Regions from separate parts of the Homo sapiens genome. Here all the other regions are linked to region 1. Evidence: promoter capture Hi-C in 16 types of primary human blood cells and fetal thymus (Javierre and others, 2016). All regions are on one chromosome and are shown on one strand. The core of a region is centred on a gene start or on the middle of the fragment in contact, and the rest is flanking DNA. Distances in the headings are between cores, read along the strand shown. Region 1 holds the start of SPRY4 (sprouty RTK signaling antagonist 4). Region 2 has its middle 110 kb from the start of FGF1. Region 3 has its middle 140 kb from the start of FGF1. Region 4 has its middle 180 kb from the start of FGF1. Region 5 overlaps NDFIP1 (Nedd4 family interacting protein 1). Region 6 has its middle 160 kb from the start of SPRY4-AS1. Region 7 holds the start of LOC124901096 (a long non-coding RNA gene).

Region 1 (4,352 bases), core at 497-2,996:
GGCGAAGAGTTCTCTTGGTCTTAGAGAAAGGTCTCGCCCCTGAAAGGAAGGCTGAGGTTCCCTAGGGGAGAGTCTGCTCTGCCCTCAGGAGCTGGGTAAGTACACGGAGGGGTGAGCCGAATGGTGAGAAGGCATTTTAGGCTAGGACTCGGTGACCTTGGGCTGCCTGCCTCTAGAGTCCCAGCCCCAGCCCTAGGCCAGACCTCAGCCCTGGGCTGGGAGCCTTTCATTGGTTCCTCTGACAACAGCCAAGCACAATCCTATAGTGGCGTAGGAAGAAAAAGACTGCCACACAATCTCCCCGTGCGGCCAGAACAGCGGCAAGACAGACCTTACAAGGGACTCAGGGCCAAGCCCTGGCCCAGACTCTGCTCTTATCCACGCATCAAAGCCACCCCCCGCCCCGGACTTCCCGGAGGCTACAGGCTCCTCCGTTCCAGGGAGGAGCAGGGCCTGCTGCGAGGGCTCCCCGCCTTCCTGGAGTCAGGCCTAATGGCGGGGGCTTTTCTTTTCACCGGCTTGAGCTGATCCTCACCCCCGCCCCCCAACGCCACCATCATTAACAGCGAAGAAAGGATCCCCAGCCATTTCCATTTCCTCTGCGGCTCAAGAGCCCCGTTGTTATTTAATCCTGAGGCCACCCCGGCAGCATCCTCGGCGCAGCCGGCTCCACCCATCCACCTGGCCAGTTCTCGGCCGCTCCCACTTCCCCGGAGGGGAGGCCGGTGAGAGGTGGGGGATATTGGGGAAAGGCGCCTACAACAGCGAAGGGCCGTGGGCCTTCGGTGGACCGAGGCTCCTCAGGCCAGCGTCCTGTGAGGGCTGGGAAACCGACTGGGACAGAGAAAGGACACCTAGCTAGGGCGACAGAGAGCGGGCAGACGCCCGGGCACTGCGGACATTGCACTGGGGCGGGGGGCGGGGGGAACGCTGGGAGGCGAGGGCCAGGCTTCCTCTGGCTGAGTTGCCAGAATCGCCCCGGGGGGTACTGGAGCCGGAAGAGGCCTGGGCCCAGTCACTGTCTACACCCAAGAAATGGGGGGAGGGGCGGCCAGCACTCACGAGAGATTCAGCCTCAGGAAAAAGAACCAGATTCACTCACCAATCCTCACCCCACCCTTTGATATGAATGATGGACATTTTCCTAATTTTTGGTAAACGCAGCTTCAAGACCCCTCCCGCCTGGCGTCTCTGGTCTAGAGCAAGAGAAGGCCCCCAGTAGGGGTCCTCCCGCCCCCCCTTTTGACTGCCTGCGGGGGGCAGAGATCCCCAGATCTAGGTGTGCCCTCCACCACCCTGCTCTCAACCCGGGATCCGGAGGCCGCAGCGTCCCCCACCCCCCAGCGACACTGACGGTTCCTGCCCAGGCCCGCAGTGGCGTGAAGGTGGCCTTTACCTCCTCTCGCAGGCTGGGAGGGGGTGCAGCCCGCGCAGCTGGCCCAGCTGCAGCAGTCGCCGCCGCCCTCCATTCATTAAAAAAAAAAAAAAAAAGGCAACAACAGCCTCCACTGGAACCTCCACCCCTCTTTGTAAAAGAACGACGGCTCCTGGTGGAGCTTGAGCCAGTCCCAGCAATCACGGGTTAAGATCTTTTCCCGCCCCCCATTCATAAAAAAAGGAGCGGAGCGCATGCGCGCTCAGGGTCTGTTGTGCCCACCCATTCATAGAATCGCGAACGGCACGCGTGCGCACTGGCGCTCCCTTCCCTCCCATTCATAAAAAAGCCATTTTCCCAGGCAGTGGTTGCAACATCGCCGCGGAGGTAGCGAGCTGAGCTGACAGCGCGGAGCTGGCGCTGTGGAGCGCAGGGAGCCTTGCCGGTTCCTCCGACCGGCGTCTGCGAGTACAGCGGCGGCTAACCTGCCCCGGCTTCAGGATTTACACAGACGTGGGGCGATGCTTGTGACCCTGCAGCTCCTCAAAGTAAGTCCATGGCTGGTTTGGAGATCTGAAACTGCCCCTCTCTGAGCCGCGACGCGACTCCCCCCTTGGGCTGGGGCAAATGGTGCGCTATTTCTAGGCGCGCCTCAGTGTTCCTTCCCTCAGCCTGCGCCTCCTTGAGTCGCTGCGGTGCGCCGCAGCTCCCTGACGCCCTCGGCCCGGCCGGCACGGCGCCGGGGGTGTTCACAGCCTGGCACCGCCGTTTCCGACCCCTGGGCATTGCCAAGCCCGGCTTCCCCGCCCTCTGAGACTCGGGAAGCCCCGTGCGTGTCCCGGGAGTTTGCCTCTGGCCTGGCCTCTTTCCTTCTCCTGCCACCATCCGCCTCGAACGCTGGAACGGGCGTCTCTGGGCTTGGTCAGGAGCCACCGTTTGGGTCGGGGGGCGCCCTCGCTCTGGGCGGCTCGCCCACCTCCCAGCTCGGTGCCCACGGTGCCAGCTTTGCCGTGTATCTCCCAGCCCGCCGTAGCGGCCTATGCTCGACGTAGATTTTTTCTTTCTCTTCGGAGCCGTGACGGACTGAATTCCCTCCCCTTCTGCCTCTCCCTCGATGGTCAGCGAGGGGCTGGCTCAGGACTGGGCATTCCTACTCCCTCTCCTTGGCGAGGCGGTTCCTCGCCGTCTGACCTTTGCTCCGCTGCCGCATTTTATGCTATGCAACTGCCTTGCAGTTGACTTTTTCTTGCCTGGCCTCTGTAAGGCCTGAGGCTCCTCGGCCACCCTGTACCTCCCTATCCTCGGGCACCGAGCTGTGCCAGGCCCCGGAGCCCCCAGGCCGCGCTAGGGCTGCGGTGGGGGTTGAAGGTGCGTTTACATAACACCAGGCGTGTGGGAGCTGGAGGAAGAGGTTGCGAATGTAGGAGAGATAAGGCTCCTGCTTTCCCTCCTTCCTTCTTGGTGGTACCAGGCTTGACATCACAGAGAAGAGGATAGAGACGGTATGTTCTGACAAATTCTGAATCGCCAAGACCCCGGGGACAGTGAGCTGGGTGAGGGCGGGTTTGGCTAGCCAGGGCAGCTAGAGCTTGGCTCCATCACTGGGTCCAGGGCTGTGCCCAGTTCCCCCTCCATGCAGACGATCAAAAAGCATTTAGACAGTAGCTGCTCTTGTGCAAGAAGACGGTTTCTCAATTCTCCTTGATTGGGGGCAGGGGGTTGTGGGCAGGAGAGGCAGGGGAGACAGAAAATGGTTGCGTGGCTTATAGGGCTGAAGGATGGGCAAGAGAGGCGAAATGGGCTGGAGGGGCTAGATGGTAGGCAGAGTAGGGAGCTGCTGGCTGCCTCTTTCACCAGCTGCTGGAGGGGCATCCATATTGCCAAGGCCTCTGTGAGGGCAGGAGGCCGCCTTCTGGCGCAGCAAGGCTTCCGTACCCCCCAGCGCGGTTAGTGCTGGAAAGAAGAGTGTACAGTGGGGTGCCCAAACCTAGTGGCATCCCCTTCTTTCCTGCCTCCAAATCAGTGGCGTGATTCTCTCCAGTTTTGGGAGAGGCCAGACACACTGGAGGCCAAAGAACTTGCAGAGGGGCGGGAGCAAGCACTCGTCTGTGTCTGTAGCTGACCGAGGCACTAACCTCCCTGACAAGTCTCTCGGGATTCAAAGCTGGAAGGTATAAGGCTCAGAGAAGTTGGGAACTGCGGGTTTATCAATCTCTTAATGAGCTCAGTCTGGCCTGAGGCCCTACCCAATATTGCACTGGTGGATTTCACAATGTTTGGAGTTCTCCAGATCTTCACACAAATGGAGCATAAACATCTCTGAAATTTTCAGCCTTTTTTTTTTTTTTTTTAGGGCGGGTGTCAGGAGAGCTAGGAGAGGCAGGGCTGCAGTTAAAGATTTCTCTTTCTCTCTCCCTCTCTGTCTCCCAGAAGGGTGGGAAAGAACTAGTGGAGATGTCCAGTGTGAAATCACATTTCCTCTTTCCCATCTCTTGGGAGGGTTCTCACGTGCTGCGAGGCTCCAGCAAATCCTAATGTGGTGAACAGCACACACACTTACCAACCACGCCATGTGGCCAGTACGGGTGTAGGGTGGGGATTTTAGTAGCAGATTTCTGAAATCTTCATGGACAAATATTGGTCAGTTACAGTGAGCAGACTTTAAAGGCATCTGTTGGTTATCAGGAGTCACTCCCTTTCAGTGGAGTGTAAATGCCCTCTTGCCCTTAGCCCTCCTGCCCAGCTCCATGACCTTTTCCAGATCACCCTCTGAAATGGCCTCATCTCACTGAAGCTTTAGTTGGGGGCTGGTGGGAGGAGACAGAACACATAGTAGGGCAGAGGCTGTGGACAGGTGGACATTTGGAGCTTACGGATGTCGTTTTCATTTATATATATATATATATATTTTTTTTTTTTCTTGAGACGAGTCTTGCTCTGTGACCCAGGCTGGAGTGCAGTTGCGCGATCTTGGCTC
Region 2 (4,352 bases), core at 878-3,377, 250 kb before region 1:
GCTTCAGATACTGAAGATTCAAGAGCTTCAGGACACTGACTGGATACAGGCCATAAAATAAGCATCTTTAAAATGATCCAATACATTTTTTAAAAAGGACTTAAAATTGAGAAATAAAAAGGCTATCATAAACACTAGCAGATTTAATTCAGAAAGTAACTAAATAAAACTTCAAATGAAAAATGGAGACATTGAAATTAAAAACCCAATAGGCAGAAACTTCCAGAAATGGCAGAGGATTGAAGTGGTTTTGAAATGTTCCCACCGATAACAATGATAAAAACAGGTTTAGGGGGAAAAAAAAAACAACAAACAACTTTTTTTAAGAAGAACTATTTAAAGACCCTGGAGAGAATCCAAAAGCAGATAGAAGCAGGAGACTTTAATCTTAAAAACTGCCACAGGAAGGACTAGGAATTTCAAGATTATATCTTCCTCACCCGAGGGTGATGCCCAACCCTCACAGCTAGGGCTGTGAAAAACAGCCATGGAAAACCACAGCCTTACTAGCTAAAGGTTCCACAGATAGGAGTTCAAGGCTGAAGAGTAGCTAGAAGTCTACAGGAAAAGTACTGGCAGCAGAAAAACCACTGAAGAAGTATAAAACTCTGAGTATAAACTCTGTCCAGGTCTGTGGCCAAAAGCTAAACTACACATATGTGGTAAAAGACCCTAAGGAACCTGGTGAAAAAGGAGACAGAAACCAGAGAGAAATCTCCCCTTGAATACAGAGCAATGTGAATGTGTTGCCTTTTAAAAACAAACAAACAAACAAACAGACTTGGTACATTTCCTAACCATGCACAATGCAGGTGGCAGAAAATTGAATCTTGCAGCCTTGAAATGACAGAGACAGCCTAAAATCGGCCAAATAGCTACAAATCAGGGAGAGGGAGCACCTATAAGCAAGAAAGTGCACAAAGAAGGTGACTTCCATCTCTGCTGAAATCCTTGGCTAACTACCAAATTACACAGAAACAGGGAAAACCCCCAAAGGGGCAGGCAGAAAAGCAGCAATAGGAAGCCATGAGAAGAGAGATATTGGCTGCTGTGTATCACAGGGGGACAAAGTTTGTGGTTGGAGACTAAACAAGTCAGCTGCCTACTAGAACAAAAACTCAGTAGTCCTCAGAAGAATACAACAGAATCTAGAGTTGCCATAATGTATTATCCATAAGGCCCAACTTTCTTTCTTTCTTTCTTTTTTTTTTTTTTGAGATGGCCGCTCTGTCGCCAAGGCTGGAGTGCAGTGGCAGGATCTCGGCTCACTGCAAGCTCCATCTCCTGGATTCACACCATTCTCCTGCCTCAGCCTCCCGAGTAGCTGGGACTACAGGCACCCACCACCATGCCTGGCTAATTTTGTTTTTGTATTTTTAGTAGAGACAGGGTTTCACCGTGTTAGCCAGGGTGGTCTCGATCTCCTGACCTTGTGATCCGCCCATCTTGGCCTCCCAAAGTGCTGGGATCAAAGGCATGAACCACCGCACCTGGCCTTAAGGCCCAACTTTCAACCAGAAATTACTATACATGCAAAGAAACATTAAAGTGCACTCTACACTCAGAGAAAAAGGCAGCCAATAGAAACTGATTCTGAGTGGCTCCAGATGTTGCATTTAGCAGACAAAAATCTTTAAACAAGTTATTATAAATATGTTCGAAGAATCAAAGGAAAATGTGGTATACATTGAATGAACAGCTTGGAACTCTCAGTGGAGAAATTAAAACTAAAACACATATAAAATAAAAAAGGGGGAAATTCTAGAGCTGAAAAGTACAAAATCTGACATTTTAAAAGTTCACTAGATAGGCTTAACTGAATATTGGGAATGGCAGAAGGAAGAATCAAGGAACATGAAGATAATGCAACAGAATGCCACACCCAAACAACAGAAAAAAATGAAGATTGAAGAAAAATGGAGAGAACCTTAGAGACCTGGGGGAGCAATATCCAGATGTTCAGTATACATATGATTGTAATTCCAGAGGAAGAGGAGAGAGGAGGGAATAGAAAAAATATCTGAAGAAATAATTATTGAAAATTTCCCAAAGGGTCATAAGGAAAGTTTTAGGGTTGATAGAAATGTTCTGTATTTTGAGTGTGGTGGTGATTTCATGGGTATATACATTCATCAAAATGTATCCAATTGTACAATTTAAATAGATGTGCTCCTATTAACAATAGCAAAGACATGAAATCAAACTAAATGTCCATCAATGACAAACTAAAGAACATGTGGTACATATACACCATGGAATACACCATGTATTCCATGGTGTATATGTACCACATGTACTTTTTTATGCAGCCATAAGAAAGAATGAGACCAGTCTTTTGTGGGAACATGGATGGAGCTGGAGGCCATTATCCTCAGCAAACTAACACAGGAACAGAAAGCCAAATACCACATTCTCACTTGTAAGTGGGAGCTAAATGATGAGAACTTATAAAGGAAGAAACAACAGACACTGAGGTTTACTTGAGGATGGAAGGAAGGAGAGGAACAGAAACAATACTTATTGGGTACGAGGCTTAATACCTGGGTGATGAAATAATCTGTACAACAAACCCCCATGACACGAGTTTACCTATGTAACAAACCTTCACAGGTACCCTCAAACCTAAAATAAAAGTTAAAAAAAGAAAACTTGGGAAATTAAAGGAGCAATAAATGTGATGATTTTGAACTTAAAATAAATATTAATAAATATAAATAGGTATGCATTATTGTACATAAATTCAATCTCGATAAAGTTGTTTTAAAAAGTAAATGATGACATAAACGTCCCCCCTCCATTAAAAAAATCCTTATGTGGCCGGGCACGGCGGCTCACGCCTGTAATCCCAGCACTTTGGGAGGCCGAGGCAGGTGGATCACGAGATCAGGAGATCGAGACTATCCTGGCTAACACGGTGAAACCCCGTCTCTACTGAAAATACAAAAAAATTATTTCCCCTACTTGGGAGGCTGAGGCAGGAGAATGGCGTGAACCCGGGAGGCGGAGCTTGCAGTAAGCGGAGATGGAGCCACTGCACTCCAGCCTGGGCGACAGAGCAAGACTCCATCTCAAAAAAAAAAAAAAAAAATCCTAATGTATGGGTTAAATATATTGAACACATCTGAAGAGAATACAGAAAACAGAAAAATAGATTTGCAGAAATTAACCAGAATGCCATGTGGTGAGATAAATGAGCAGGGCAGAGGCATGAAAAATAGAATGAGAGGAGGAGTTCCTGTAGGACAGAAGCGTGGAAATGTGGTGAGATGGTGTGTGGAGAGATTATCACCAATGATTTTCCAGTTTTGAGGAAACACAAGAATCCTGAGGTTCAGGAAAAACATGGAGTCCCCTTCAGTACAAATAAAACCATATCCACATTTAGGAATACCTTTGTGAGCATGAAGAATGCTACAGAGAATATCTTAAAAATAGCTCGAAGACCCAGGAGTGGTGGCTTACACCTGTAATCCCAGCACCTTGGGAGGCCAAGGCAGGCAGATCACCTGAGATCGGGAGATCGAGACCACCCTGACCAACATGGTGACACCCCGTCTCTACTAAAAATACAAAATTAGTGGGGCGTGGTGGAGTATGCCTGTAATCCCAGGGAGGCTGAGGCAGGAGAATCGCTTGAACCTAGGAGGCGGAGGTTGCGATGAGCTGAGATCACGCCTTTGCACTCCAGCCTGGGCAACAAGAGTGAAACTCTGTCTCAAAAAAAAAAAAAAAAAAATAGCTGGAGGAAAGAATGATGTCCTCCACAGTGGCATTTACAGTGGCAGCAGACTTCTCAACACGACGACAGTGGCCAGGAGAGAGCAGAATCTGGTCTTCAAAAAGCTGAGAGAAAATAACCATCAACCCGCCCGTCTGGTGCCTCGTAACCAACTGCAGATCCACTTCTGAACTTCTGTTTTGAACCTTCTCATGACCTCTTCATTCTCAGCCATCAAAATAGGTTCAGTCTCTTAGGCTATTAAGGGATTTTATTTAAAGTAAACAGTGTTAATGTGTTCAGGGTGTTAATGACATACTACTGTGGCCTGCCAGTGTTGACCTAAGCCACTTTTATTATAATATTACTAAAATATGCACAAATATATAAAACTAGGTATAAACCTCATATGCTTATAGTTCTTTAAACTATAAAGTTGTTTAATAGTAAACAACTATTAAACCCAAACAAATGTGTAAATATATATGTGATTTATTTATAAATTAAAAACAAAGTTACGGTGCCAATAAAATCCAAAACATTGACATAAATGTGACAGAATGCACCATCCATTTATCTGTTGATGGACACTTGAGCTGTTTCCACAGACAAAATACCAGATTGTTAGAATCTA
Region 3 (4,352 bases), core at 807-3,306, 220 kb before region 1:
AGCGTCACGCTCTGTTGCCCAGGCTGGAGTGCAGTGATGCAATCACAGCTCACTGCAGCCTTGACCTCCTGTTTGCCTATATCTTGAATTCTTGAATAAGAATAATCACTAGCATCTTTTCAGCAATAAGACAGAACTTTTGCCCATAATGCACTTTAAACAAAAGAAAGCATTATACTGAAGCAGATCACTCACCTGCTTCTCATTTGTCTTTTGAACAAAAGTCAGACGTCATTCTTTCTCTGAACAGAAACCCAGATAACAAAAGTAATAAGTGAATAAGAAATAAAGTTAATGTCCAATTGTGGTTTCCATCTGAGTTTAAAAAGCAGCTTTGGCACAGTTGCTGGGAACGTAACTGCAGGGAGCACTACTTAGATATTTAACATACGATTTAACCTAGCAACTCCAATTCTATGAATCACGTCTACCAATGTATTGGTACATAGATAGATGTGCAAAGGAATCCGTTGCAGCAATCTTTGTCCAGACTTCCAGAGCAAGACTCTGGAAACAAATGTCTATTAACAGGAAATTGGTGAAATAAATTACGGTACATCTACTGTACAATGGAATTCTATGCAGTCAGAAGTCGATGTATATATATGCTGTTTTGGACAGATGTTTAGAACTATGATTAAATGTAAAAGCAAAGTATATTACAGTGTGTGCAGTACAATCCCATTTATGTTTATATATATGTGTGTATATGTGTGCTTTTTAAAAGGAAGGGCTCTACATACATGGAAAATATCTAGAAGGATATCCTGAAAGCTTTTAACATCATGACTTTTAGATAAGGGGTCATGGGATATGGGGCACGTTTTACTATACATTTCTGTATTGTTTGAATAATTTACACGTGTTACGTCCTTGGTAAAGCCAGCCTCAGGAAATGGTAGGTACTTCTCTCATCTGTCTTTAGAAACCATGTTGGCTTTGGCCGGGCGTGGTGGCTCACGCCTGTAATCCCAGCACCTTGGGAGGCCGAGATGGGTGGATCACAATGTCAGGAGATCGAGACCATCCTGGCTAACACGGTGAAACCCCATCTCTCCTAAAAATACAAAAAAATTATCTCGGTGTGGTGGCGGGCGCCTGTGGTCCCAGCTACTCGGGAGGCTGAGGTAGGAGAATCGCGTGAACCCGGGAGGCGGAGCTTGTAGTGAGCTGAGATCACGCCACTGCCCTCCAGCCTGGGCGACAGAGCGAGACTCCATCTCAAAAAAAAAAACAACAAACCATGTTGGCTTTATTCACCTATATCTAGAGTCCAAGTGATAGAAATACCAAAGCAGAGGACAGTGGTGTCTGCCAGCACAAGTCCCTGTGGCTGAGGGGACATGTGAACTCAAGTCCCATTAGACATGAAACCATTATTTTCACTTTTTGGTATTCAGGTATTAAGTGATGCTCACTGCATTAAGCTTTTAGAATGATCTTGATGATATATTACCATCTCTTGGAGTAAAGATTCCATGACTCGGCAGGAATGGGCACATTGTTCTCAGCAGCTGAGAATGATACTGTGGAGCCTGTCGCTAAGCACTCTAATTGGAGGAATATTTAGCTAGTTGAATTGAGATTAGGTTCAGCTGTGAGGAACAGAAACCCTCCAATAAATAAAAGTTTATTCTCTATCATATAAGAAGCCTTGACGACAGTCAGTGCATGGCGGGCTGTTCCTTCTCTCTTGTTTCATCATCCATGGACTCAACCAAGATGGCAGTATTTGCATTTCAGACAGCAGGACAAAGGCAGGCATGAAGAAGAAGGGGAAAGTGTGTATACACAATGCCTCTTAAGTGGGTTTCTAAGAGCTGCCCCTAGACACTTTAACCTACTCACACTGGCCAGAACTCAGTCTTATGGCCTACCTAGCTGCAAGGGAATTTGGGAAATATAGTCTTAATCCCAAGTGGCCATATGCCCAGCTTAAAATTGGGGCTTTAATGTTATCACCACAGAAGAAGAGAAGGGTAGATACTGGGAGATGACTAGTGGTTTTCTGCAACACTGATATAACCCACTTTTTTCCCCTCTAATCTACTTTCCAAAGATAAATGTGTTTAGCATTCCATCATGTCAGCCAACGGCATAGCTAAGTTATCATGCTTTGTCATACACTCACCCCTATGAACTTAGGGAAATATTTGGAGAAAAGATTTGCTACAACCTAGAGAGGATGATGAGACATCCTGGGATTTCAGTCACCTGTGTTTCTCCCATTTCTGCCACCCGCTCCAGAATCTTGAACATAATGGATAGGATATGCTAGCTAGCTTTTGGAGACAGGAACCATGTCATTCCTACAATGGTTCCATAATAAACGTCAATGGAATACAGTAGAACTGGCCTGTGATGTAATTTAGAGACTACTTCCTGTGAATGAGGCAATATGTACAGGAATAGAATGTTATTTATGCTATGGGAAAGGCCCATGGGGCTTCAGACTTAGGTTTAAGGAAAAAGGAATCCACCAGCTGATTATACTAGATCCCAGGGGACTAAGGATAGTAAACAGTCATAAAGGAATTGGGGCTTCAGAAATTCCCAAGGTTAGGAAGGACTAAATCCTGTTTTGGAGCAGACAGTGGCAGACTCCCTGGACGTTCTTGCCTGACATCAATCAGTCTAGGGACTGGTGGTCCATTAGGCCTCTGCAAAGAAGGGACCTGAAGCTTCCCTGCCCCAGCCTTACCTGTCATTTACTGCCAGGCTTTCCCAGACACAGGATGGTTATTCACTAGGAATACAAATGAGGGTCCTTTTATGTTTCCTAGCCTGCAGGCCCATTAGTTAGCAGTAAAAAGCCAAAATGTTTAAATCCTAAAGTGAAACCTCCATGCTGTGGTATTCTGTCTTGTTAAAAACAAGTAACTTTATGGTTCTTTGATCAATAAATAGCATAAGGGTATAGAGATAAAGGAAAAGAACATTAGCATGAAGACAACAGACTAAATAAGGCCCCTGAATTACTCAGAGGGGTGGAATTTCAACCCTGGTAGATTTCCCTGGTAACTATGTAGGAGAATTGTTCCAGACTTGAGGACTGTGATCATGCAGGTTTGGCATCCGTGTCAGCTGACACTGGCCCCATGTTTGGCCCCATCCTCTTGGGCCCTTGGCTTGTCAGGGCTCAGTGGTCACCATGCCAGTGAAGGTCTCAAGCTAGGACTTCACCCTCCTACGTGAGACTGCCTACTTGGCCTCTCCCTACAGGCTCAACAAAGCTTCTAAAACCTATACCCAAAGTCAACCCTTGAGTTCTCCTCAAGCCTGCTTTTCCATCTCGCTAAATGGCCAGGAAATCATTCTGCAAAGTGCTCAGCTTGACAGCCTCAAAACTATCCCTGGCTCCCACTCTCATGTCCCACTTTCAAATCATCAGCAAATCTCACTGGCCCTGCCTTCAAAGCATATTCAAAATCTGACCATCTCTCATCACTTCCACTAGTCTGGGTTGCCATCCCTCTCACCTGGATTACTACAAAGCCTCCTACTTGGTCTCGTTCCTCCCCTCTTGCCAAGCCACCCATCCCATTCTTTTTGCCACACAGCAGCCAGAGGAAGCCTTTTAGAACCTAAGCCACGTCATGGTGCCCATTGGTTCTAGACCCTCGAGGGGCCTCCCCATGTCATACAGAGTAGAAGCCACAGTCTGCCCAGGCCCCCAAGCCCTCTGTGACTTGCCGCAGCTCTCCCATGGCACCTCCTACACCCGCTCCTGTGGCTAACTCTGCTCCAGCCTCCCTGCTACTCCACAAAGGAGGTAAGCATGTGTCCGGCTTTAAGCTGTGCACATGATGCTACCCAGGCAGCATTTCCGCCAGCTATCAGCAAGCTTAGCTTCCTAAGCTCTCATTTCTGATAAGGATGGCCCCTTATCAGAAAGCTTCCCTGACCACCCCTTTAAAATCCAGCTTTACTTTTCTTCATAGCACTTATCCCCACTTGACAAAATATATATTTATGTTTTACTGTCTGTCTCTCTCCACTGGAATGTAAGTTCCATGGATACAGGATTTTTCCTTCTGAGAACAGTGCTGGGTACAGAGAAGACACATATTTTTTACATGAATAATGTGGGCACATTGTCCAATTAACGTGTACCATAAGACAAGACAAACAGTAACAACTGTAACAAAAATCCCAGTCACCTGTATGAATATGTATAATGTCTTTTTTCATTACTAACCTTTTAAAAAAATAAGGAAAGAGGAGGAGGAAATTTTTGTCGGTTGGATGAAGAGGGGAGAAAATCATTTACTTAGAACCATGTTTCGGGCACTCTTCTAGGTCTGGAGGTAGAGAGTCAAGATAGATAAGCTCCCTGTTTTGTGCAGCTTATG
Region 4 (4,352 bases), core at 667-3,166, 180 kb before region 1:
TACAACTTCTGTCTCAGCTTTTATTATAGGATTATTGTAAGATCTGAAAAAGCACTAATCTAGGTGCAGTGGCTCACACCTATAGTCCCAGCTACTCAGGAGACTGAGGCAGGAGGATCCCTTGAGCCCAGAAGTTTGAGTCCAGCCTAGACAACATTGCAAAACCCTATCTCTTAAAAAAAAAAAAATTAAAAAATTGAAGATAAAATTTAAAAAGCACTTAATTTGCTCTTACTGCATGCAAGGCACTGTCCTAACTAAGCATTTGATATATATTAGCTCAACTGATCAACACGGCAACCCTGTAGTGGGTTGAATGGTGGTCCCTAAAAAGACATGACCACATCCTAACCCCTAGAACTCGTAGATGGGACTTTATTTGGAAAAAGGATATCTGTGGGTATAATTAAGTTAAGATCTCAAGATGAAATTAACTTGGATTATTGGGGCATGTCCTAAACCCAGTGACAAATGTCTTTATAGGAGATGGAAGAGGAGAAGACACAGAGAAGAAGAAAAGGCCAAGTGAAGAACTAGGCAGAGGCTGGAGTGATGCTGCCACAGCCAATGACCACCTGGTGCCACCAGAAGCTAGAAGAGGCAAGAGGGGATTCTCCCCTAGAGCCTTCAGAGCGGGCATGGCTCTGTTAACACCTTGATTTTGGACTTCTGCCCTTCGCCACTGAGAGAATACATTCCTATTGTTTTAAGCTACCAAGTCAGTGGTAATCTGTTACGGTAGGCTTCGGACATCAATGCCAATCGTTTATGTCTTCCCAGATGAAGAAATTGAGCCCAGCAGATGAAGTGACTTGCCCGCGTTCACATACTTAGTAAGTGGCAAGCTGGAATTTGAACTCAGGCAATCTGGCATGAAGTCCTTGTTCTTAACCACTACATTCATCCCTGGAATGTATTTAATTGAACACCTCCTATGTGTCAGGTATGATAGATGCTGGGGATACAGCTATGAACAAAACAGCCAAAAGTTCCTCATGAAGCTCAGGTGGGAACTGAGGTTCAGAGAGGCAGAGTGATTTGCCTAAGGTCACAGCACAGTTGGTAGAGGTGGGATTTGAACTGGAGTATCCTGACTCCAGGGTCCATTCTCTGCTCTCTAAAACAAAATGGGAGCCACTGGCCCAGGCAGCCTCTGTAAACTATAAGAAAAAAAAATGGGGATGAGTAGTGGAATGCAGCAGCTGTCCCCCTACCTCTGAACAAGGTCCCTTGTCAGTGGTGTTCACTCAGGCTGCCTTATGATGGTAGAAGGAACAGTAGGTGACCGGGGAGTCAACTGGTCTACCACAAGGCAGAGGCAGAGACCTTCTTCTACCTCTGTTGTCAGGATGGCTCAACATCTGGGGGCATTTTGAGGAGCTGGTGAACTTCAATGTCAACCCTCCAGACTGCAAACAGGCTAAGGCATCTGACCCAACTCTTCCAGCACCAGGGGCAGGTCTTCTCCTAAATTTGCCACGGAATAATCTGAATTCCACCTGGAGAACAAAATGACTTATTAAGTGAAAGCAGACGTCATTCTCCAGGTCCAAGGGTAAAAGCTCTGAGGGTGCATCTGCACTTTCAATGAAGCAGAAATGTTGTGTCCTGAGACTTCCAACACCTAAAGATAAACACATTTGAGGGGATGGAGGTGCCAGAAGGAGCCGGAAATGTGCTTTTCAATTTTTTTTTCTTCCTTGGAGAGAAAAACATGAAAAAAGGAAAAGGTAATTTAACCTGAATAAATGTGATGCAATTTCCTGTTTTGAATTAAGTTTTAACTAGAACAATTGCAAAAGCAAAGAAGGCAAAGGGAACAGAATGAGGGGGATAAAAGAAAAAAAAGGGAAAGATGAAAAAAGTAGAAAGAAAGAGACAAAATAGCAAAGAAATTTTCTTTTCCATAAAAGAAAAATATATATATAAGATGAAGTGGCAAGGGACAGTGATGGAAGATAACAGGAAAATGAAAGGGAGAGACTAAAATCGAGATACCGAAGCAGAGGAAAAGCAGAAAAGAAGGATGGTAATTTTCTGTGTCAGTTTTCCAAATGACTCTCTCCACCTGGGGCTCTGGCCACCCCCTCCCTTTAGCTGCTGCTCAGGGACTCTTTATCAGTCTATTGAAGAGGCAGGAGGCTATCAGTTTACAAGAAGAGAGGAAGCAGAGGAAGAGGAAAGAAAGCAGACAAATTACTAAATGAGGAAGCCAATTATCCAGTGCACCATACTTCAAGCTGTCAGTAGGCTGCTATTCCTCAGGCACCTTTGAGCAAAGTGGGACTTAGAACTCTAGAGCTTGCTGCCATCTGGCCTTTCCAATAAGATAATCTATACAGACTTCCCCTAGCACATTCACATCAAATTGCCAGCATCCGGAACACAAGCTCTCCAACCCAGAGACCTGTATTCCAGTACCACCAGCACACACACAATCACAAAAGCAGAAGAGGTCTCCAAATAAAACTGCCCAGGGTCCACTTTGGTTTCCTACCTGGACAACTAAAGCGTTTATCTGGAGGTTTCTGCTGAGTTCTCTAACAGCAACAAACATAAAAAAGCCAAAAGCAATAGGCATTTGCTTCGGTCAAGCAGCCAAAGATGGTACAGGGTAAAAGATCTTTTGCGACTGCCAAAGGCCAGTGCATGGAAGGCAGCCCGGCGCACGGTGTCTTAACTTACGGAGATTTCTTTAATCTTACATAAAACCCTGACAAACACTCCTGCAGAACAAAGTAAACATCATCTAATCTAGCTGTACGACAGCGGCCACATACAACTTGATGTGGGGGGTTGAGAGCCAAGAAATGTCAGACAGGAAGGAGATCGAAACGTCTGGAAAGGAATCCAGTCAGTCAGTGGCAGAGTCCACTTTGGAAGAAATATGAATTACAGAAAAGAGCTGAGCATGGGGCAGATAGCACAATAACATCGGCACCTTGAATAAGCTGCCTAACACGCTCTGGCAGTGGAGACTTCTGAAAAGTTAATATTTATGATATACTAGATTTTCTTGTTCCCTCAAGAAAGTCATGTGGCGTGGTTGGCTTGAATCTGAAAGAAAGCTAAGAACCTCGAGAAAAGGAAAATGTCAGGTCTGTAGTCGTCAGCTCTGTAGTCATCAGGTCCCTGAGGAATAATAGATACTGACATTTCAGCAACTACAACTCTGAGTCCGGCTGAAAGCAGAAATGGTGAATCGGTTTGTCCCCTCACCAGCAGTCTGCATAATTCTGTAAACAACTCTCCTTCTCTATAGAGAGAGGCGACTATAACTCTGGAAAACATTGACAGAGACTAATACACCCACCTTCATGCTCCACAGGGTAAAACTGATTAGTCATAGTCACAGTTCCTATGACAACATTTTTCAGTGTGAGGCCTGCGGGCTACCTGTATCGGAAAAACCGGGGGAACTTGTTGACAATATCCATCGCTGAATCAAAATTTCTTGGGAGTGGGGCTCGAGAATCTACCTTTCTGAAGTAGCTCTGTTGGGGATTCACATGCCCTCTAGAGTCTAAAAAACACTCTTCTGTCTCTTGTTAATGATGGAAACTTCCCTTCCTTCTTTCTCTCTCCCTCCATCCATTACAATTTTCACCTCAGGCACTGTGTTCTTTGTGAAAGATACACAAGACACAGCTCACACTGAAAATGGCCGTAGCAAGAAACGCTCACATATGTAAAAGTGTTCCTGTAACTCCAAATGCTCACATCAGTTCATAAAAAGATGTGTTCGGTTTTCTTTTATGAAATGTAGAACTTCTAAGATAAATATATTTGAGGAAATTAAACTATACGCTAATGATCACAAGCAGAACCTATCATTCTCATAGGCTATTTCTTTTGGGAGGAATACGTAAACACATGTATTAAGTTTGTCAATAATTATTTGTTCCATCCATCATCCTTATTGAGTTATTTGATTGTGACATATAGAGCGTAGCCATCCTCACTCAATGTGAATAAGAAGGCAGTCTGCTTGACTCTGTGCCAAGGGTGTAACCATTTGAATTGTAAGTTAACTGCTGGCAGGAGAGATGCACCACTCGGCCAGGGACTTCTCCCTCATGGGTAGGGGTTTCTCCTGAGCCTGCCACGATTATGATTCACTCAAAGGGGACCACAGGCAGAGAGAAGCAGCAATAGCTTTTGGATGGTCATGAGATGATTTTGCTCATCCTTTCTTCACATTAACACATTCCATGTAAAAGTAAACATAGTGGCTCTGAATTACATTCTGGACCACCTATTGCCCCCAATATCTGGCTTCAGGCAATGCAGACTAGAAATTCAGCTGTGTTTTGAATAGACACTGATGTATTTTATCAGTGCCTCTGTGAGCT
Region 5 (4,352 bases), core at 811-3,310, 180 kb after region 1:
CGTACACTCCTGAAGCACCAGCAGGCTCAACACTTGAATCTCCCTTAGTACTTCCTACAACATTATTATTACTAAGGACTGCCTACTTCAAATCACAACCCCACATACATAGTTTTAAATTTAGAATATCAAAAAACATTTCAGAAATTTTAGAAAATCCAAACAATAACAACAAAATTTTCAGTAAAGCACCAAACAACACAGGAAAACTGAGACGTTCAGGCTTTCTGTCAACTGGGCTGCTATTTCTTATGCTTAGAACCAAGATGAAGAAGGTATGCAATCCCCTAATAAAGATTCAGATTTCTTTCTAACTGAAGAACAAAGAGAATAGACAGAGGTGTGATCTCAGTCCATTTAGAAATTCAGAGCTAACATTAGACTACACCTACAGAATTGATGACTTTTTTTAAAAAGAGAAAGAAATCTGTCCCCTCAGTATATCTTGGGTGTCAATGTATTAGAGGGAAAATATTAGGTGATTTCAGCACCCTTCATAAGGAGGACTTGTAGCAACCCAACAGTACTAGCTTTGGAATCCTTGATAGGTAAAAGTTAAACCTAAGGCTAACTATAAATTCCAATCTGATATATAGATGAAAGATGACAATGGTAACTAAATAAAACTGCAAAGAATATCTAATAAGTCTCTTATGTTCTAGACATAAACAAAGACACATTGTAGGCATTAAGGCCCAGGCCAGTGGTATGAATATCCATCTGTGTCCAGACTGTGTGACTGAATTCAAATTCATGACATGCTACACATTTTCAGACATGCAATCAAAGATTCCTGTTTTTTAATAATGAATACTAGTTTTTTTAATAATGAAACTAACTTTAAAAGCAGTTTAAGCCTTCTTTACCTACATACATTTAATTATCCATGTAAAATGCTTAATATATTATCTGACACATGGAAAACTCCATGAGTGTTAATTTTAGTTTACTATACTATGCTTGAAAAAATGTTTGTTATATTCAAGAGGGTCTCATTATATGATTCTGTTGCCTAAAAGCTTTCAATGCTGTTCTATCACCTGGAAAATCAACTATGGTAGATGCTTTATTTTCTTGAAGCATACCTCCTGAGACCACCACAAGTCTTCAAAATTGAGAACCTCACGATTAGTATATGATTGCCTATATAAACTGACACTCTGCGAGTACAGAACAAATTCGTGCTCCACGTGGGCTTAGTCTTGCATTGACCCAACATGTCGCTGGCTCTATCAATTTCATGGTTCTACTGCAAATGGGCTTGGTGCTCAAGGTATCTGAGAAACTTGTTTCAACCTGACTTTTTAGCCTTGACCCTCAATACTCCTTTATGCCCCAATCAAGCTGCTATCCTCTGAACAAGCCCCATACTTCCCTATTTTTGCTCTTCACTCTGCCTCAGATGATTCTGAAATTCTTCCCCACACTCTCCACTATCATGTAAAGTTTATCTGAACTACACCACCTATCCTTTATAATGCTTTGCCTAAGACCTTCAACTGGACTGGCCTCTAGGTGGTGCTCAAGGTTCCACTCTATGATTAACACAGTCCCCAAAGCCCCAAGGAACAAACAGCCAAGTCCAAGAAAGCCTATTAGAACTTGCTACCACAGAGAGCTCTCTCTGGTGTACTCTTTCTCAAGATTCTCTACCTCTTCCTTCAGGCAGCCATTGATGTAAGATGGAGTGTCAGCCTCTGGGGAAAATCATGTGTGAATCAAAGAGCCTTGGCAGGGCTTAGTCCTCCTGTTCTAGGCAAGGGAAAAGGTCCTTTCTCCTCTTTTCTTGAGTTTGACCTTCCTCACATTAGAGTGGTATCAGAATGTCAACCTGAAGAAAGCCATGGGGAAAGCCTCAATGACAATTTTAAAAGATGGAAGACTTGGTGGGCTTGTCAGCAGCCCAGACAAAAGGAGTTCTTAAAGTACTACACAGTCTCTCCAGGTTCTGGGATTTAGGGGCAGAGATGAGTGATTAGGCCTGAAGGGTTCCTTCTGAATGTCATCCTCTGGAACTGGTGCAACAGTAAGCAGTGGCTTCAGGATGCTGGAATTCAGTCAAGCAGCCAAATATCCCAGCTTTCTGATGACTGCTAAGACCCCTGCCTCTTTCACACTGTCAAAGCATGAAGTAATGATTTCTCCTATGGCAGTTTTTCTAATTTGACTTTATCAATAGCTTTTTGTAAAAATCCCTGTTACTAGACAAGAAACTGCTAAAAGGCAGGGACTGTGCCTTCTTTACTTTCTCTATATGCCCCTATCACAGATACTTACTCTAAAACTGAACAGAAATCTACAATGTAGCACATGGTTACACTGGGACTAGAATAAATTTTTTCTTTAATACCTTTAATAAATAAAGAGAACTCTGGTCCTGGGGAGATTTGAGAAAGTTTCTGGCATCTTCCGAACTTTTGCATAATTGATAAATCCTCTGAGAAACAGGAGAAAGCCTAATTTAAAAAAGAAAAGTCATGAATGAATTTATAATTTCCATGTTAAGTCCCCTCCCCAGAAATCCCTCTCCTGATAGCGATACATTGTTATTTTTCTGCTAAAGGTAATCAAAACATTAGCAATTTCCTCCAGAATCTGCAGAGGATTTTCATACCAAATTATCCATCCTTCAATGAGAAGGTATAATGTAAGAGTCAATAGTGTCTTTTGCACATTCAGAATTGAATTGGTCTAAAAAGGAAATAAAAAATAAGATGGAGCCAAACATTTACATATGAAAGCCTCATTGAGAAACATCAAAATCTACCTATTGAGTTCCAAAAAAGCATTCCAAGATAATGAACTCCAAACAACAACAACAACAACAACAACAAAAAGAGGTTATAACTGTGTTTTTCTCAAGTAAAAAGAAAAAATGTAACCTTCCTTGTCATGGGCTGTTTTTTCTGTCGACAGTATATAATGTTGTCCACTAGATGTCAGGATCCCCTTATCTATTACAGCAATTCTCATCGTCTCAACTTGAAACTTTGTCTACTATTATTATTATTATTATTATTATTATTATTATTAACAGACAGGGTCTTGCTCTGTTGCCCAGGCTGGAGTGCAGCGGTATGATCACAGCCTCTGCAAGCTTGAATTCCTGGGCCCAGATGATCCTCCTGCCTCTGCTTCCCAAGTAGCTAAGATAACAGGTTCATGCCCAGCTAATTTTTTAATTTTCTGTAGAGATAGGGGTCTCGCTATGTTGCTCAGGCTGGCCTTCAACTCCTAGGCTCAAGTGATTCTCCTGTCTCAGCCTCCCAAAGAGTTGGGATTATAGGTGTCAACCACTGTACCCAGCCTATTTCTCTATTCTTAGTAAGACTCTTTTTGTGTGACTACACCAGAATCTATACATTCACAAAAGTTTGTACCTCCTAAAACTGTCAGCAGAGAGGTGATATGCCCCTCCAGTGGAAACTCAGATACTCCTCCTGGCCTTCCTCTTTCAGAGATGGTCTCTGAGCCTTTAGCACATTTTTTTTTTTAAATACTTTTACTGGGATACTCAGTGGTAGAAAATGGTACTTGGACAGTTGAACTGATTTTTAGCAGTAACCAAGAGCTGTCAGCTCTGAGCTTGGGGAACATCATTCTGTTTGGGACCCAAAGCAACAAGTGACTATTGAGCAGGGGTTACCCCTTCAAATACTAAGTTGGGGTATGGTGGTGGGATCTTACTGAACTGGAAGGCACATGACCTGTATGGAGGAGACAGCAACAACTCAGCTCCAGCCAAAGGGTGCCATGTGAAATGTAGGCTAGCTTTTCTTGATATTCCAACTTTCAAGAAAAGTAAAAACATTCAGGCGTTTTATGTGAAATAATTTTGATTTTTAAAATGTTGGCAACTAATTTAAAAAAACTTGAAAAATAACTGTGGAACAAATAAACTATAGGCTAACTATAGCTCAAGAGCAGCCAGCTTGGGAGCTCTGCACAGAGCTCTGCAAGACAAAACACCATTAAACTGGTTCTCTTCAAAAGGGAAGTTCCCAAAATGACCCGAATATTGGGCACAAATGCTCATAAGTGTATCCAAACTCTTATTAATATATATATATATATATATATATATATTTTTTTTTTTTTTTTTTTTTTTTGAGATGGAATCTTGCTCTGTTACCCAGGCTGGAGTGCAGTGGCACGATCTCAGCTCACCGCAACCTCCGTCTCTCGGGTTCAAGCCATTCTCCTCCCAAGTAGCTGGGATCATAGGCATGAGCAACCACAGCCAGCTAATTTTTGTATTTTTAGTAGAGACGGGGTTTCACCACGGTGGCCATGCTGGTCTCGAACTCCTGACCTCAAGTTATCTGCCTGCCTCGGCCTCCCAAAGTGCTGGG
Region 6 (4,352 bases), core at 589-3,088, 160 kb before region 1:
CTGGCTAATTTTTGTATTTTTAGTAGAGATGGGGTTTCACCATATTGGCCAGGCTGTTCTTGAACTCCTGACCTCAAGTGATCCACCCACCTCGGCTTCCCAAAGTGCTGGAATTATAGGCGTGAGCCACCATGCCTGGCCTATTTTATGTATCTCTTTCTTAGCAAGATAACTTTTCCAGAAGCTTCCCAGCAAACCCTCCCTCCCATCTCACTGGCCCCGATTGGGTCACACACCCCATTCCAAAATCAATCATTGTCAGGGGATAAGTTTACATGTCTGGCTTAGCATAATTTACACATGGTGAGAGTCAACTGCTATGAATCATCAGTCAAAACTCTTGAAAGGCTACTGGGCCAGGCAACAGATGCTAGCAGCCCAAGCTACAATAATGGTGGTAAGGGATGGGGAAGTAAGAATAGGTAAGATTTATTTAGCAAGTTATGTTGGTAGAGTTTAGTGAATGTGGGAGGAGGAGGGAAAGGAGGAAGGAAAGGACACCCTCATCCATATTTCCAGCTTGGGTGAGCAGGTTAGAAGGAAGTTTGCTAACTGAGATAAGGTACACGGTGGGGAGGAGAGGTGGGTTTGGGGAAGAGATGGTCTGGGGCAGGCTCAATTTGAAGTGCCCATGGGCACTGGAATAAGACATTGAACAGTCAGTGGAGTGCAAACCATGATCCCAGGGTGGTGGTCCATAGTCAGATCTAGTTCTCGGATGGGCTTTGGTTCAGAAAGATGTTAAAAAAAAAATTGAACCAACATTTACTCTTTGAGAGATTCCAAATAGGATTATGTATTTCTAGCTTCTGTGGGAAAATTGGAAAATCTGGTGACACTGGCTCTGAATTCCTATGCATCAAGAGTTGGCTGGAGCCCAGCAGCAGCCACCCACTTTGGCTAAAACCAGCAGCTCTCTGGTCTGCCACACTCACAGTCAGTTTCATTCATTTTCTTTACCTGCTTGGCCCCTGAGGACATTTCCATCTGACACCTCTGATGGGGAAGAGGTCTGAGCTGCAGATATACATCTTGGAGTCACCGGCATTTAGGTGGCAGCAGAAGCCCTGACTGTGGGTGCCATTGCCCAGAGATGAAGTAGAATGAGAAGCAGTCAGGGAAGTATCCCTGGGGCCATCAAGTTTTTAGAAATAGAAGAGAAATTCATATAGAAGAGAAAGAAATGGTCAAATAAATTGGGGCAGAAGCAAGAAAGCTTGAAGTCTCAAAAGCTAAGAGAGGAGAGTTTGAAGCTGGAGGCAGTGCCCACCTGGGCCAGGTGCAGCAGGGAGGTCCAAAGACAGGAGGAGCCAAAGGAGACACAGCACTGGGGAGATGAGCTGTGGGTGCCACAGGGAGCGTTGCTCCCTCGCATGGTGAGGGAAGAAGCCAGAGAGCGATGAGTTGGGTAGAGGATGAGAGTTAAGTGGACAGAGTTCACATAGACTACTTGGGTGAGAAAGAGAAAAGAAAGTTGGGGTGGAGGCTAGAGAGGATATGGGGCCATGGGATGGTCCCTTTTAAGGATCAGTGAGACTTGGACATCTTAATGGGAGAAATAAGCCACTGGTGAAAGAAAGGCCATAGACATGTACCACACAGGGATGAACAACAGAACCAAGTCCAAGAGGAGGTGGTGGAGGTGAGGAGCAAAAGAGTCAGGCACCACTGGCTGGATCCACCAATAACAGGAGGGGTGTCCAGGCCTCCAAGGCTGGTGCATAGCAGGGGACACTAAACCTGAGTGTGTTCAGAAATCTGATGGCTATCGATGGACCTTTCATGATGGAGGTGGTGGTGGGGTGGAGAAATCAGTAATCTTTCAAAGGAATACTCCAAGGTGCCCATCTTTTTCCATTTGGTGTGAAGGCTGGGGTGGAGAGGTTTATCACTCACAGGTCCTGACTTATAAGCAGCAATGGGTAAAGAGCAGAGCAAGCCCTGGAGGCTGGTTTTCAAACCCTTGGAGGCTAAGTTCCTATCAGCAGAGGGGAAGGAATGTGCAGGCACAGTGGAATGATCATTCTTCCTGGGAGGCAGGAAGCTCTGGGAGGGGAGGCAGTCACAGCATCACACACAGCCTTGAGAGCTGTAGACAATGGAGCCCTCTCTGGTACACATCCTGGTTTGGGTGAGTGTTCCGCCCCTTTTCCTGTGCTTAACTCACTCCAGAAGCATCCACCATAACCAAGATGGACTAAACTTAACTCCACTCTTGCAGATGCCCCATCAACTCACAGATGCAAGTGGTGTCATCAAAGCCCCAGCATGTCACCCAACCGTTAACACCAATCCACATAAAGAAAATGAGCATGCATTCCTGTTTGCTGGATGCTGCACACATTCTTTAAACAGAGTAGGCACTTGGGTGCCACCTTTATTCAAGGTCTTCAGGTTTCTTTTACGGGGGACATCTGCCATAGCAACTTTCAGTGGGCATTTCTTTTCTGATGAAGCTTTCTATCCTGGGGAGCCAGGGAGACTCCAAGGCAATGGAGTCCCCTGGCAGCTCACTGTCACAGGTCAAGGTTTTGATTATGACAAAGAAGATAAAAGAAGAGAAGCCCCTCATGGTTTGTGGCTGCAGCATTACAGGGCTGCCAGAGACCCCAGAGCATGGGTGTCTTGGTGGTCCACATTCTGTGATCCAGGGGAGGAACCCTGAGGAGTAGGGAACTGCCCACCAGAAGAGCACTCACAACACACTCAAGCTTCTTGACATACAATTCCAGATGTCATCTCTAAATTCACAGTGACCTTTTCCCTAAACTATGTTTTGATACAGGGCGAGCAGAAGCGAGGGGTGATACACAGCAACATCGGTGAGCATCTGAGCTCGCAAGGAGGCAGTGGCCTCTGTGCCCCCTCTTCCCACCCGTATCTTAATAAAATTTCCTAAGGATAATTATTTAGATTGTCTCTCTTTTGTGTCTTATGTATTTAATGGCAGAGCTGCTATGAGGCAAAAAGAAACAAACAAACAGAAAGCTCTTTTTAAAAAATGCAGGAGGAGAAATATGCCAGGAAAGGCTACTATTTGACATTAGGCATTCCTGGGATAACTAGGATTTAGCTAACATAAAAATTTCCATGTTTTAAAAAGTATCTCTGATTTAAAAATAATAACAAATCTGGCTACAGCCCTTGCAGTGGAAAAATCAATACTCTTTTATTCCTGTAAAAGCTAGGGCATTAAAACAGAATCCAGGCTAGAAGAGGTGGGTATGCCGGCATCATTTCACCTGTTTTGAATTATGCGGTTAAACCCAGCGTGCATTTCCCTAGAGGGGGCACAGACGCTTCTTCCTTCAAGAACATGCTAAACATCCATCTGTCAGAAACAATTTTGGGGTATTGAGGTGCAGAGACGGAGAACAGAACAGACCATCCCTTGGGGTTCCTGCCCGTACAGAACAGTTGTGTCTCTGCTAGATGCATGCACCCATTATCATTGATCAACAGTCCCCTGCACGACAGGCATGGCCACCCACGCTGGGGACACGGCAGTCCATGTCCTCAAGAAACTCATCTTCTCCTGGCAGAGCCAGATGCCCAGATAGACCATCCCAAGACAATACCACATTGTGAGAGTAGAATGTTGATGAAAACCAAAACCAAACGCTACAATTAACAATACGGATTTATGGAAAGGGGTGCCATTGAGAGCCGACCTCTGGTACTACCACAGGCACTGGGGGCTTAAAGTGTTTCTCACATAACACAGCAGCCCCTGGGGGTAGCTTTCTTATCTTTGTGTTACTGAGTGACTCCTACGATCCCCAGGGTAGTGAAGGGCAGAGATGGGATTTGAACCCAGTTGCTCTGATTCCAAAGTCCCTGGTCTTTTTATACCAAGCAACATCTTAAGTACCATTTTTAAAATATCACATTTCCCGATTCCCTTCACTGAATTTTATTTGTACTTCTCATAAGGCAATTACAGGCTGGGCACGGTGGCTCATGCCTGTAATCCTAGCACTTTGGGAGGCCGAGGCAGACAGATCACTTGAGGTCAGGAGTTCGAGACCAGCCTGGCCAACATGGCAAAACCCTGTCTCTACTAAAAATACAAAAATCAGATAGGTGTGGTGGCAGGCGCCTGTAATCCCAGCTACTTGGGAGGCTGAGGCATGAGAATTGCTTGAACCTGGGAAGTGGAGGTAGCAGTGAGCCGAGATCACGCCACTGCATTCCAGCCTGGGAGACAGAGTGAGACTCCATCTCTAAATAAATAAATAAATAAATAAATAAATAAGTCAATTACCTTAATCTGAGCATGGAGTCATTTATCAATTTTGCTGAACTATAAACTTCAAAGGCAGGAATGGCATCTCTTTACATATTTTGAGTTT
Region 7 (4,352 bases), core at 1,338-3,837, 160 kb after region 1:
TAATTTTTGTATTTTTAGTAGAGATGGGGTTTCACCATGTTGGCCGGGCTGGTTTCGAACTCCTGACCTCAGGTGATCTGCCCACCTCGGCCTCCCAAAGTGCTGGGATTACAGATGTGAGCCATCAGGCCCAGGCTGTAAAGTTGTACTTTTGAATTTAATTTTTTTTTCTTGAATATTAATGTGGATTAGAGACTTGCTCATGAAAATTTGATTCTGGCCAGGCAGTTTGGTCATCACCTGGGAAGTTTTTACAAATGCAGAATCACAAGCCCCAGCCTAGACCTCCTAAACTATTACCTGCATTTTATTAAGCTTCCCAGGTAGTTTGTAGGCATATTAAAGTGTGAGAAGGACTAGATTCGAGCATTTATGTATAAGGCTACTAGAAAGGTATATTGATAACAGTAAATGATTATAGCTTCCTTTCAGATTTGCAACAGATTTTGATCTAAATATTGAGTATAAAAAATAAAAGTTAAATTTAAAGGATGAGACTGATAACAATCATAACTTCTCAAATCTAAATGAATATTTCCTGCAGATAAGTCAATATATATGACCTCAACTGGGCAGCTTTACTCACTCTTCTCTAACATAAAGACACGCTCTTCCCATGAAGGTTCACATCTGTATACATTACAATTGCTGGCATTTTAAGAGGCTAATGAAACACTCTATTTTGCGCTATTGACAGAAGGCAGATTTCTAAAAATCAGAGTTAAGATGTTCCATAATAAACACGGGTTAACTTTGTAAAATAAAAAGGGGTGGGGGCAGGGATGATGGTAGGGGGAGAAGTATTGGTTAGTGGTCAAGAATGCCTTGATTTGGATTCTTGCTCCGTCCACCGGGTGACCTGACCTCTCTGGGAGCCAGCTCCTTTAGTGTAAAATAGGGATAATAGCGCTGTTGCTGTTCAATTCTGGAGGGTTAAAAGATTCTGCGTGAAAAGGACTGTAGCAGCACTTGAACACAATAAATGTTGAATAAATGTAAGCTATTAATATGAAATTAGAATTGAAATCCTGTCTCGAGATACCATTTTGCTTAATTGAGAGAACTTGTCATGTCTCTGTCCAGCACTTGATCTGACTCTTAGCTAGAAAGGTTCATACTATCAGCTGTGCCTATCTCACTGGCTTAGAGAAAGGATAAAAAAAAACCCTGCAGTACAAGCTGGGGGTGGCGGTGGGGGCACTGAAGCCACGCTCCAGGTGAGGTGGGGAGGCACACTGATGGAGGGGTATGAGCCCACTTCATGGGGAACATGCACAAAGAAGAAAACATCTCAGGCTGCTGTGGGAGGGCAGATGTCCTGTGCCTGCAGTCCAGAATCCCCCTCATTCCCACCTTCAATAAAGGGAATCCTGTGGGAAGAGAAAGGAATGTGTTAAAGTGTAGATCAAGAAGGGACAGGAGAATAAAAAGAAATGGAAGCAGGTGCACACACAGGAAAGATGATGAGTGTTCTATTGTTGTTAAAGAGTTCATGCTCTAACAACACAAACCAAATTAATCCCAGCCTCCCCACTTAAGGACGGTAAGGGGCAAGTCAGTTAACATGAGTCTCCATTTTTTTAAAAATATACAACAAGGATCACAGTATTCCCTACCTCAAAGGGTTGGGGAGATGATTAAATCTACCTGTGAAGAAGAAAGCAGAGTACTTCGCACATGATAAATGCTCAATAAATGGTATTCATTACTATCCATCTATGATACGCATCTGCAACACAAAAATACACATGTTTACTGTAGGTTTAATCCCAGGGTCAAGGAATTTGATGTGAACTTCCAATCAACAGAGAAACCAGGTCTCTTCTGGATGCCCTATGGATGAAAGAAGACCAAGGGTATAGGACGCCTTTGTCATAATTGTTGCAACAGTCTAATTATTCCTCTTGGCAATGAAGCAATGGAAAAAAGAGGTATTAGAAGTTGGCTTTAAAAACACCATCATCGGCTGGGCGCGGTGGCTCAAGCCTGTAATCCTAGCACTTTGGGACGCCGAGGCGGGCGGATCACGAGGTCAGGAGATTGAGACCACGGTGAAACCCCGTCTCTACTAAAAATACAAAAAATTAGCCGAGTGTGGTAGCGGGCGCCTGTAGTCCCAGCTACTCAGGAGGCTGAGGCAGGAGAATGGCGTGAACTCGGGAGGCGGAGCTTGCAGTGAGCCGAGATTGCGCCACTGCACTCCAGCCTGGACGACAGAGCGAAACTCCTTCTCAAAAAAAAAAAAAAAAAAAATCATCGAGGCCAGTTGTGGTGGCTCACACCTGTAATCCCAGCACTTGGGGAGGCCGAGGAGGGCGGATCGCTTGAGGTCAGGAGTTCGAGACCAACCTGGCCAAAATGGTGAAGCTCCGTCTCTACTAAACATATAAAAATTAGCCGAGTGTGGTGACGGGCGCCTATAATCCCAGCTACACGGGAGACTGAGGCAGAAGAATCACTTGAACCAGGGAAGTGGAGGTTGCAGTGAGCCGAGAAGGCACCATTGCATTCCAGCCTGGGCAACAAGAGTGAAACTCAGTCTCAAAAAACAAAAACAAAAACATCATGGGGCATTTGTCAGAACGAGCTGAAAAGCAGAAAAAGACAAGATAATCTACACTGCAGCAAAGACTATTTAAAAAATTTAACATCTGATATAAACAGAATGGCTTAAGAGACCTCATCTCACTGGGCTGTGCCAGTATGCTAGTACTACCTATGTAAAAATAATAAATTCACAAAAACAAGTCTGAAAAAGAACAAACAGTTGATTTTTGGAGATAGTAGGCTTAGAAAGTGACTTTTTAGATGTGCTCATAAGTTTTGCAAAATCAGGGCATTTTGAAACCCCTGTAAGATTGACGGAGGAAAAAAAATGTATAACGGTCTAACAGTTTTAGGCAAAGTAAGAGATGAGTGTTTACTTAGGGCAGTGGTTTTCAAGCCATTTTTTTTTCAGCTGCAGAACCCTTTTTGTAAAACAAAATCTGAGATCCCAAATACTCTGAGTAAATTTATTTATATATTGTTTTAGTATTTGTTCATGTCTGTAAATGAGATCACAAATAACCACACAATTGAACACATATTTGAAAATACATCTTATTACATGATTAAGGCTGTTTTTAAAAGATAAAATTCCAATTAAAAGTTTATAGAATCCTAGTGTTTTGTGGAAGGTAATTCAGAAGCATCAGAAGGATTATGAAATTTGGGACTAGCCAGGTGCTTCTCCATGGAGGCCCGAGAGTTGTCATAGATTCATGCAGATGCCATTGGAGGTGATCTATATAGTGAGAGAGAACAAAGAGCAGAGGACACCCCAATGCTTTCTGTTTAATGGCCAAGCCAAACTAGTACTGAAGGGGCATGAAGAGGTGAGCCTGTGAACACTGTGACAAATGCCACCACTGTGAAAAGCTCCCCAGATCCCCCAATAAAGGGGAAAACAGGCAGGCCCTATCTGGGCAGGCTTGGATTGGCAGGACTGGGTTGGGGGGCACAGACACAGGCTGGAACCATCTATCCAGGGGCATACAGGAACGTTCCTTGGAGAGCTTCAGGAAGAGAAAGCAGGCATGTGGTTTTCTTGTTGGATGCGGCTAGATGGAATGGGAAGATAGAAAGCAACTAGGGTTAGGCCGGGCGCGGTAGCTCACGCCTGTAATCCTAGCACTTTGGGAGGCCAAGGCGGGCAGATCACCTGAGGTCAGGAGTTCGAGACCAGCCTCACCAACATGGTGAAACCCCCATCTCTACTAAAAATACAAAAGTTAGCCGGGCACGGTGGCAGGCGCCTGTAATCCCAGCTACTCGGGAGGCTGAGGCAGGAGAACCACGTGAACCCAGGAGTCGGAGGTTGCAGTGAGTCAAGATCACGCCATTGCACTCCAGCCTGGGGACAAGAGTGAGACTTCGTCTCAAAACAAACAAACCAAAAAACCAAAACAAAACAAAAAAAAGAAGTAACTAGGGTTCAAATGGCCCAGGGTTAAGATTTGGAGAAAGGAAAGGGAGAGCGGCCACTGAGAAAATGGCCCTATCTACAGTTGTGTAGGAATTTAGGACAGAGAAGTAACAAGAGTGATCTAAGCAGCACTGGAAACGTAGGGGAAGGGGGAGGTGTCGAGAGGGCGGCAAAGAAGACATGGAAAGGGCAGGGAAAAGAGCAGAGAATGTAAGGCCAGTGCAGAAAGAAACAAAGCAAAGGATAAGAAGTTCAAAGGCTGCTTCGAATACCTAAATCCATACAAAGATAGTATACGGCAAGTCTTGTAATGTAATACAAATGGACTAAGCAAAAAAGAGGCCAGAGTTTCAGCCTATAGAACTCAGGAAAGGAAATGAGAATC

What was found. The method cuts DNA at HindIII sites, captures the fragments that hold promoters and counts their contacts. A CHiCAGO score of 5 or more calls a contact.
Region 2: a fragment that was not itself captured here is called in contact with the fragment with the promoter of SPRY4 in region 1 in 1 of 17 cell types (activated CD4 T cells); the score reaches 5.0 in activated CD4 T cells.
Region 3: a fragment that was not itself captured here is called in contact with the fragment with the promoter of SPRY4 in region 1 in 5 of 17 cell types (endothelial precursors, M2 macrophages, activated CD4 T cells and 2 more); the score reaches 18.1 in endothelial precursors.
Region 4: a contact is called between a fragment that was not itself captured here and the fragment with the promoter of SPRY4 in region 1, in 1 of 17 cell types (M1 macrophages). The highest score is 5.3, in M1 macrophages.
Region 5: a fragment that was not itself captured here is called in contact with the fragment with the promoter of SPRY4 in region 1 in 1 of 17 cell types (endothelial precursors); the score reaches 5.4 in endothelial precursors.
Region 6: a contact is called between a fragment that was not itself captured here and the fragment with the promoter of SPRY4 in region 1, in 1 of 17 cell types (endothelial precursors). The highest score is 6.5, in endothelial precursors.
Region 7: a fragment that was not itself captured here is called in contact with the fragment with the promoter of SPRY4 in region 1 in 3 of 17 cell types (endothelial precursors, M2 macrophages and activated CD4 T cells); the score reaches 10.1 in endothelial precursors.

Annotation. Positions count from the first base shown.
Region 1 is chr5:142,322,415-142,326,766 of GRCh38, reverse strand. It overlaps SPRY4 (sprouty RTK signaling antagonist 4), which reads left to right and starts at 1,746. Exons shown (of 2, transcript NM_001127496.3): 1 at 1,746-1,923. It overlaps SPRY4-AS1 (SPRY4 antisense RNA 1), which reads right to left and starts at 1,474. Exons shown (of 4, transcript NR_120664.1): 1 at 1,397-1,474. RefSeq lists enhancers at 2,280-2,339, 1,821-2,783, 2,784-3,748. The HindIII fragment of the contact is 6,861 bases long and covers 1-4,171 here.
Region 2 is chr5:142,573,152-142,577,503 of GRCh38, reverse strand. No RefSeq gene overlaps it. Among named protein-coding and RNA genes, the nearest start is that of FGF1, 110 kb to the left of the region's middle. The HindIII fragment of the contact is 7,425 bases long and covers 1-4,352 here.
Region 3 is chr5:142,543,841-142,548,192 of GRCh38, reverse strand. No RefSeq gene overlaps it. Among named protein-coding and RNA genes, the nearest start is that of FGF1, 140 kb to the left of the region's middle. The HindIII fragment of the contact is 1,254 bases long and covers 1,430-2,683 here.
Region 4 is chr5:142,506,634-142,510,985 of GRCh38, reverse strand. No RefSeq gene overlaps it. Among named protein-coding and RNA genes, the nearest start is that of FGF1, 180 kb to the left of the region's middle. The HindIII fragment of the contact is 5,361 bases long and covers 1-4,352 here.
Region 5 is chr5:142,142,675-142,147,026 of GRCh38, reverse strand. It overlaps NDFIP1 (Nedd4 family interacting protein 1), which reads right to left. Exons shown (of 8, transcript NM_030571.4): 7 at 2,351-2,456. The coding sequence ends at 2,353. Among named protein-coding and RNA genes, the nearest start is that of NDFIP1, 36 kb to the right of the region's middle. RefSeq lists an enhancer at 1,560-1,649. The HindIII fragment of the contact is 2,078 bases long and covers 1,022-3,099 here.
Region 6 is chr5:142,482,737-142,487,088 of GRCh38, reverse strand. No RefSeq gene overlaps it. Among named protein-coding and RNA genes, the nearest start is that of SPRY4-AS1, 160 kb to the right of the region's middle. The HindIII fragment of the contact is 1,240 bases long and covers 1,219-2,458 here.
Region 7 is chr5:142,161,259-142,165,610 of GRCh38, reverse strand. The region is part of intron 2 of LOC107986455 (a long non-coding RNA gene); the gene reads left to right. LOC124901096 (a long non-coding RNA gene) reads right to left here and starts at 2,037. Exons shown (of 2, transcript XR_007058978.1): 1 at 1,648-2,037; 2 at 1-1,370. The HindIII fragment of the contact is 4,540 bases long and covers 318-4,352 here.